Linked DNA regions of Homo sapiens: region 1 is linked to region 2. The links are contacts of gene promoters, found by promoter capture Hi-C in blood cells and fetal thymus (Javierre and others, 2016). All regions are on one chromosome and are shown on one strand. The core of a region is centred on a gene start or on the middle of the fragment in contact, and the rest is flanking DNA. Distances in the headings are between cores, read along the strand shown. Region 1 has its middle 30 kb from the start of SRD5A3. Region 2 holds the start of CLOCK (clock circadian regulator).

The links. The method cuts DNA at HindIII sites, captures the fragments that hold promoters and counts their contacts. A CHiCAGO score of 5 or more calls a contact.
Region 1: a fragment that was not itself captured here is called in contact with the fragment with the promoter of CLOCK in region 2 in 6 of 17 cell types (naive CD8 T cells, activated CD4 T cells, naive CD4 T cells and 3 more); the score reaches 7.1 in naive CD8 T cells.

The regions. Positions count from the first base shown.
Region 1 is chr4:55,314,373-55,318,059 of GRCh38, forward strand. No RefSeq gene overlaps it. Among named protein-coding and RNA genes, the nearest start is that of SRD5A3, 30 kb to the right of the region's middle. The HindIII fragment of the contact is 3,281 bases long and covers 307-3,587 here.
Region 2 is chr4:55,544,950-55,548,551 of GRCh38, forward strand. It overlaps CLOCK (clock circadian regulator), which reads right to left and starts at 1,960. Exons shown (of 23, transcript NM_004898.4): 1 at 1,833-1,960. It overlaps LOC124900704 (a long non-coding RNA gene), which reads left to right and starts at 916. Exons shown (of 2, transcript XR_007058122.1): 1 at 916-1,661; 2 at 2,667-2,940. RefSeq lists silencers at 956-1,585, 1,706-1,805, 1,866-2,235. The HindIII fragment of the contact is 4,589 bases long and covers 322-3,602 here.

The DNA.
Region 1 (3,687 bases), core at 697-3,196, 230 kb before region 2:
TTAACTTGGAGCCACTGCTTCCCTACATTCAATCTGGTCCGTGTTGCTAGACTTTTTCCCAGGCATCAGGGCACATCTATGTTTTTCAACACCAGCTGAGGAAGGGTCGCATATTCTTTCCAGTTGGGATTCCTGGGCCTCATGCAAATAAGGGGTTATCCCCTGAGAGTGCTTTAAGACAATTGTAAAGTTCTCCTATCCCTCTAGGGAAGTTTAAGAGGCTTGTCTACTCCTAGGACATGTGGCACCTCTGGGTCTGAAGTCCAGTTCAGCCAAGATAGTTTCACAGATTATTGAGCTTTTCAAAGCTTGTGTGAGAATCGGAATGAGCAAAGCACAAACACACTCATAAACAACCTAATAGGGGAAATAAGAAAATTACCTTCCTGAATGTTTAAAAAATGGTTATAGCAGGCACTTGTAAAATCTAGATAAAAGGTAGATATGCTTGCACCTGAAACTGTGTTTTCCTCAAAACATCTATTTTCATCTTAACAATGGTTAAGATGAGACAATGGTTGCCTGTACATGGAAGATAGCTTTCTACTTCTTTAACTTTTCAAGTTTTAAATAATGTACACTTAGTACTTTCATAATCACAAAACTTTTCTGTTTTGTTAAAATTCCACAGTGTACTTTGGGAGGCCGAGGAGGGTGGATCATGAGGTCAAGAGATTGAGACCATCCTGGCCAACATGGTGAAACCCCGTCTCTACTAAAAATACAAAAATTAGCCGGGCATGGTGGCAGGTGGCTGTAGTTCCAGCTACTCGGGAGGCTGAGGCAGGAGAATGGTGTGAACCCAGGAGGTGGAGCTTGCAGTGAGCCGAGATCGCACCACTGCACTCCAGCCTGGGCAATAGAGTGAGACTCCATCTCAAAAAAAAAAAAAAAATTCCACAGTGTAGGTCCTCAATTTAAACACAATTGGCATATCTGGCATAACATACAGTATGTATAAATAGGAAAACAAGGGGAGAGCTGGCATGTGATCATTTTACAGCATTTCTAAACATATCCTAATATTCTAGAGCTGGATCATGGATAGGCAAGCTATCAGAAGTTGCAAAATAGGAGCTGAGCCCTGGGGGAGAGGTGTGCACATGTGGAGCTCCAGACCTCCGCACTGTTCCAGGCATCTTCTCCAGCCCACACCCAGGGGTGCTGGGATAGAACAGATCTGGGGATGGACTCCCCACTGCTTGATAAGGACATAAGAACTCCCTAATGAGGACATTTTTGCCTAAGAAGAAAAGCAGAATAAAGATGCAAATTAAACCAACAATGAAATTTGTTGTTGTTGTTCTTGTTGTTGTTTTGAGATGGAGTCTCACTCTGTAGCCCAGGCTGGAGTGCAGTGGCACGATCTTGGCTCACTGCCACCTCTGCCTCCCAGGTTCAAGCAGTTCTCCTGCCACAGCCTCCTGAGTAGCTGGAATTACAGGCGTGCACCATCATGCCCAGCTAATTTTTGTATTTTTGGTAGAGATAGGGTTTCACCATGTTGGCCAGGCTGGTCTCGCACTCCTGACTTCAAGTGATCGCTCTGCCTTGGCCTTCCAAAGTGCTGGGATTACAGGTGTGAGCCACTGCACCCGTCCATGAAATGTTATTTTTCTTCATTCCATTAGATTGGCAAAATGTGTAATGTCGAAAAATATCAGATGTTGGGGAGGACTTGAGGAAATGAGTTTTCTTGACAGTGTTGGCAGGAGCATATGTTGGTATAGCCACTTTGGAGGGCAATTCGGACTATACTATTAATCTATAAACTATACACACATGCCCCTCAACCATGTCAAGTGCAGGGTTGATTATTCTAAGAGTAATGCAAACCATATTTTTTAATCTGTACTGTCACAAAAGCACAAAAGTAAAGATCATGAAAATTATAATGTATACAACTGACAATTTGCTGAAATTAGAAAACCCCAACAGATCATGGTAACTCCCTTTTGAGAACAGAGGTTAAGTGGTGGATGGGAGCCAACCAACCAGTATTATAGCATCCACCTTAGAGAAACACCCACATATGTGTATAAGTTTTTCATTGGAGCACTGTTTACAATAGAATGAAAACCGCCTTTAAAAGTTCATCAGTAAGGCCAGGAGCGGTGGCTCATGCCTGTAATCCCAGCACTTTGGGAGGCCAAGGTGGGCGGATCACAAGGTCAAGAGATTGAAACATCTTGGCCAACATGGTGAAATGCTGTCTCTACTAAAAATACAAAAATTAGCTGGGCGTGGTGGCACATGCCTGTAATACCAGCTACTCGGGAGGCTGAGGCAGAAGAATCACTTAAACCTGGGAGGCGGAGGTTGCAGTGAGCCAAGATCACACCACTGCACTCCAGCCTGGTGACAGAGTGAGACTCCGTCTTAAAAAAAAAAAAAAAAAAAAAAAGGTTCATCAGTAGGGAAATGCTTAAATTACAATGGCTTCACACTATGTGTCAGTAAAAGAATGAAGCAGATGTTTGTGTCCAGATGTGGGAATATCTCCAAATTATGTTATTGAATAAATATTTTTCAACAAACTATAGAATGATAAGTACAATTGATACATATACAATTGATATATATATTTATCTAGATCTAGATAAATGTGTATAAACTAATTTTTAAAGTTCTAAAAACATACATACTAAAATGACAGCAACCTCTGGGGAAGGGACTGAGAAAAAGGAGGTCAAAAGGGATGTTAACTTTACCTGTAATGTTCAATTTTAAAATTTACAATGAAAATGTATTCATGTATTTTTATGCAATTTATATGAACAACATTTTTAAAAGAAAGAAGCTCTTACAGAGAAAGTCACAAACCCATGTGGGATATGCTCACCAAGAAACTCCATGTATTCACAGGTTCACTTCTTTGGTGCTCTCCTCAGGATACTTGAAAAGCCATATTTAGCAAAGAGTTTCAACTTTTGCTCACCTGTCTGTTCTTAACTTTTATTTTAGTTTCAAGGATATATGTACAAGTTTGTTATATAGGTAAATTATGTCTTGTGGGTGTTTGGCATATAGATTATTTCATCACCCAGGTCATGAGCATGGTACCCAACAGGTAGTTTTTCAACCCTCTCCTTCCTCCCACTCTTCACTCTCAGGTAAGCTCCAGTGGCTCTTGTTCTCTTCTCTGTCTCCATGTGTACTCAATGTTTAGCTTCCACTTATAAGTGAGAACATGTGGTATTTGGTTTTCTGTTCCTGTGTTAGTTTGCTTAGGATAATGGCCTCCAGCTCCATCCATGTTGCTGCCAAGGTCATGATCTTGCTCTTTTTATGGCTGCATAGTATTCCATGATGTATATGTGCCATAGTTTCTTTACCTAGCCTACCACTGATGGATATTAGATTGATTTCATGTCTTTGCTATCGTGAATAGTACTGCAATGAACATACATGTGCATGTGTCTTTACAGTTGAACGATTTCTATTCCTTTGGGTATGCACCCCATAATGGGATTGCTGGGTCGAATAGTAATTCTGTTTTAAGTTTTTTGAGAAATTGCCAAACTGCTTTCCACAGGCTCGCCTGTGTTTTAATCCTTTTAAACTTCTCCTGCTTCTTTGGTGAAGAAAGCTTCATATCACGAGAAAGAGAAGCAGGGGGAAAGAGGAAGAGAGGGAGCAGGAGGGAAGAGGGCAAGGAGGAAGAGGAAGGAGAAGGGGAAGGTAAGG
Region 2 (3,602 bases), core at 710-3,209:
TGCAATCTTTGCATGTTAGTACGTAGAAAGCTTCCTTATTCTTTTTTCATAACTGATTACGCCTAGCTTTAGAACATTTTCAGTCTGCTTTCTTCAGGCTAACTTTTTTTTTTTTTACTTTTTTTATTATTATACTTTAAGTTCTAGGGTACATGTGCACAACGTGCAGGTTTGTCACATATGTATAAATGTGCCACGCTGGTGTGCTGCACCCATTAACTCGTCGTTTACATTAGGTATTTCTCCTAATGCTACAGGCTAACCTTTCAAGACATTCTGTTCAGCCAACCACTTATCACAGGAATTAATTTCCTTCCCCCAAGCTTTGAAAACCAATCAGATTTGAGGTGTCCCAAGGGATAAGTTTCAGAGAAAGCAATTCATTATCTAAATTACATCCTTTTAAGAATGTTTATTTTCAAACAGGTAGAGGGGAATATTGCACAATTTTCTCTAATCGCTTAAAGCTACAAATCAGAACGCAATCTTCAAAGTGAAATTACCTTTGATTTGGGGGGATCAGCGTTATAGTCAAATCAACGACTGTAAAAGTTTACTTCTTGTGCTTTTCTTCCACTGTAAAAATTTTTTTATTTTTTAAAGAAGGCTAAAAAGCCTTAAAGTCTAATAGCACGGCATTCTAATAGCAGGAAACCACAATCTGATTTGATCTTTCATCTGCCAGGTCAGAGACTAGGCTTTTATCTTGCAGAATTAGGCTCACCTACCATCAACAAGAGGACCTCTACAAAGCTACAAACACTTTCAAAGAATATAAACTCTGCGGCGCTGCGTGTAGGAAATTACACTCCAGGGGCCAGAGCGCCAGAGCCAACTCCAGAAAACCCAGCTTCACTGGCGGAAAGAAATCTACAAACGCCAGCGGCGGTGACGGGGAACGGGAAGCGCGGGTGGACGGAAGAAGAGAAACCGAGCGCCTCGCCGCCAACCCTCGAACCCGCGCGCGGTCGCTGGAGTCAGACGCTAATAGCCGCGCGCTGCCTAGGAACGGAACCCCGGAACCACCACCACTAACGGAACCAGCCCGCGGCCGGCAACGGCGGCCGTTCGGACTGCGGACTGCGGCACGCGGGCCGGGCGCCGGGAGGGCGGGGGTTCCCCGGAGGAGCTGGCCGCCCCGGCGCCCCATTGGGCGCTGCTCCAAACGTGCCCGAGTGGTGACAGGAATAAAGTGGGTCACAAGGCCTAGCGGGTCCCCAGCGAAAGCTCTCTCGGCACCCGGTCCCCGTCTTTCCCCGCCTCCCAGCTGCTGGAATCGGCCGCAGCTCCGGGCGCCCTCAAGCCGCCCGGCCCCGCCGTGCACCCCACTCCCGCCCCTGCCCCGCAGGTAACCCCAGCTGCCCCAGAGGGCCTCTCAGGCAGGGCGGGCCTCGGCCCGAAGTCCCGGGAAAAGACACACTAGAACGACACGCCAAACTTGGGCTTCAGCTCCCGCCTTCCCCACCCTTGGCCGCCGCCCCCCGGCCCCACACACGCCGCCCCCCGCTCCCTCCCCTTCCCCGCGCCCTCACCGTGTGGCTTGCGGCGGCTCCGGCTTCTTCCCTCCCCCACCCAGGTCTCCCGCTGCGGTGACTCGGAACCACTACCCCGCCTGTGTCCAGGAGGCGCCGCGGCTCCCACCTCCAGCAGCACCTGGGGCTGTGAGTGGCGCCCCCCACCCACCCCCCCAAAAATTCGCCGCTCCTGTGGCCAGCTCCTCCTCCCCCTCCCTTCCCTTCCCCTCCTCCACCAGCCCAGGAGCGCGCATGCGCCGCCAAGGAAGCCAACCGGCACTCGGCAGGCCCTGGGCCCACCGGGCGGGCGCCTCTCACCGGGAGCGCTCGCGGCGGCGGCGGCCAGATTTCCTTCGCGCTCTCGCTCTCCGGGGTTTCCTTTTTTAAACCGGCAGCCGCAAGCCGAGTCCGTGATTGCGCCCCCTCCCGGCGCATGCGTCGTCAGCGACCCCGCGGGCTCAGACGGCCGGCGGAGGCTCTGCGCTCGCCCCTCCCCTCACTCTCCCTTTCCCCAGCGCGGCTCGGTGCGCATGCGACTTGCCCCGTTAGGCAGCACGGAGCCGCGCCAGGGGATCCCGGACGCCCGAAGAGACTCCCGCGCCCCTTGGGCCGAAATCTGGCTCTGCAGGCGCACCGTTCCCTGCCCCGGCCGGGAACGGCGCCGGTTACTAGAAAGCCGGGGAGGCGGGGCCTGGTCGGGTGGAGGGCGCGGCCGGCCGGCAGAGCGCTAGCCTTAGGTCCTGGAGGCTCTTTGGCTTTCCCCCCGTATGCCGGGGGCTAGGAGGAGGAAGAAGAGCTTCCTGCCGGATGAGGGATCCAGAGGCCAGAAAAGGAACCCGCTCTCCCTTCCAAAGCAAAACACTGCCGACGCCAGCTTAGATTTTTCGGGTGTTGGCAGGAGACTTTTTCCCCCAGTGGCATCATTCGTGTTTCCTCTCCTGGTGCTGGGAGAGAAGAGTTGCAAAGGCGCCTGGACCGCCAGTAACATCTTCTCCCATCTCCTGAGGGAGCGCGGCTTGGGTTGCTTCTTCTTGGTGGGTGGGCCTGGGGAGACAGGGCATGCGCCCTCGGCCAGAGGAGGGAAGCGAAAGGAGGTCGGGATTTATTTGCTCATTTGGAGATTTTTCCCTTGCCCTTTTATTAAAAATCAAGTGACAGTGTAATGGAAGATGGAGAATGAAGCATCAGAAATAAACCAGGACCCTAATTTGCATGGATTTCCTCGTTGGAACAACGTGTGACTACTACTTATCTTCGGGAAATTACTTATCTTGATGCGTTAAGGCACATTTGGTCCACATGAGAAAGCACATTTCAGTGCTTCTACTGGAAAAGAGATCTTTACAGTCTTAATTCCTAGTAATTCCTATGTTTTAATGAATATCTTTTGGATTTGAAATAAAAGCCATCTTTTTCTTTCAAAAAATGCACTTTTCTGGCCGTAAAATCCTCCCTTTAAAGTAACAGTCACCTCAGTAAACATTTTCAATTCTTGCTGTATGCTCTGGGCAAAAGAACATCAAACTGAAGCACTTATTCAGATCCTTGATCCTGCACCTAAGGATTTTTCTTTCAGGAGTGGGAAAACATGATTTGTTAATTTACCCCATCATATAGCAGAAGATATTTTGGTCGACATTTTTGCCTGTTCAGCATTCATTCCCTATTCTGATAATTTCTTTTGAAGAACTATCATTTATCCACTCTCAGTCCATATGGTCTGAGCAGGACACAAGGGGAAGGCATATTTGAGTTTAATCCTCGGTTGCAAACTACGGTTCCTAAGAAGGGTGTTACGTCTTTACCAATGGGTTTAAATCTGGGAGAATGGAGACCTGGAGCCATCTTTCCACACGTGAATTCTGAGAAAGAAGGCAACACGGAAAAAAAGCAGATTTGAAGACAGGTTTGGCCTAAAGACATGTTTGAGGCCTGGAAACAAATGTAGATTAGATTCCTCTGGAAATTTCGTTAAACCAGTCAGTAAATTCTTGCATCTGTTTTATTGCTTAAACCAGTGAGAGGTTTTCTTTCACATGTAATCAAGAGTCCCGACTGACAAGAGGTAGGTAGCAAGACGGAGGCAAA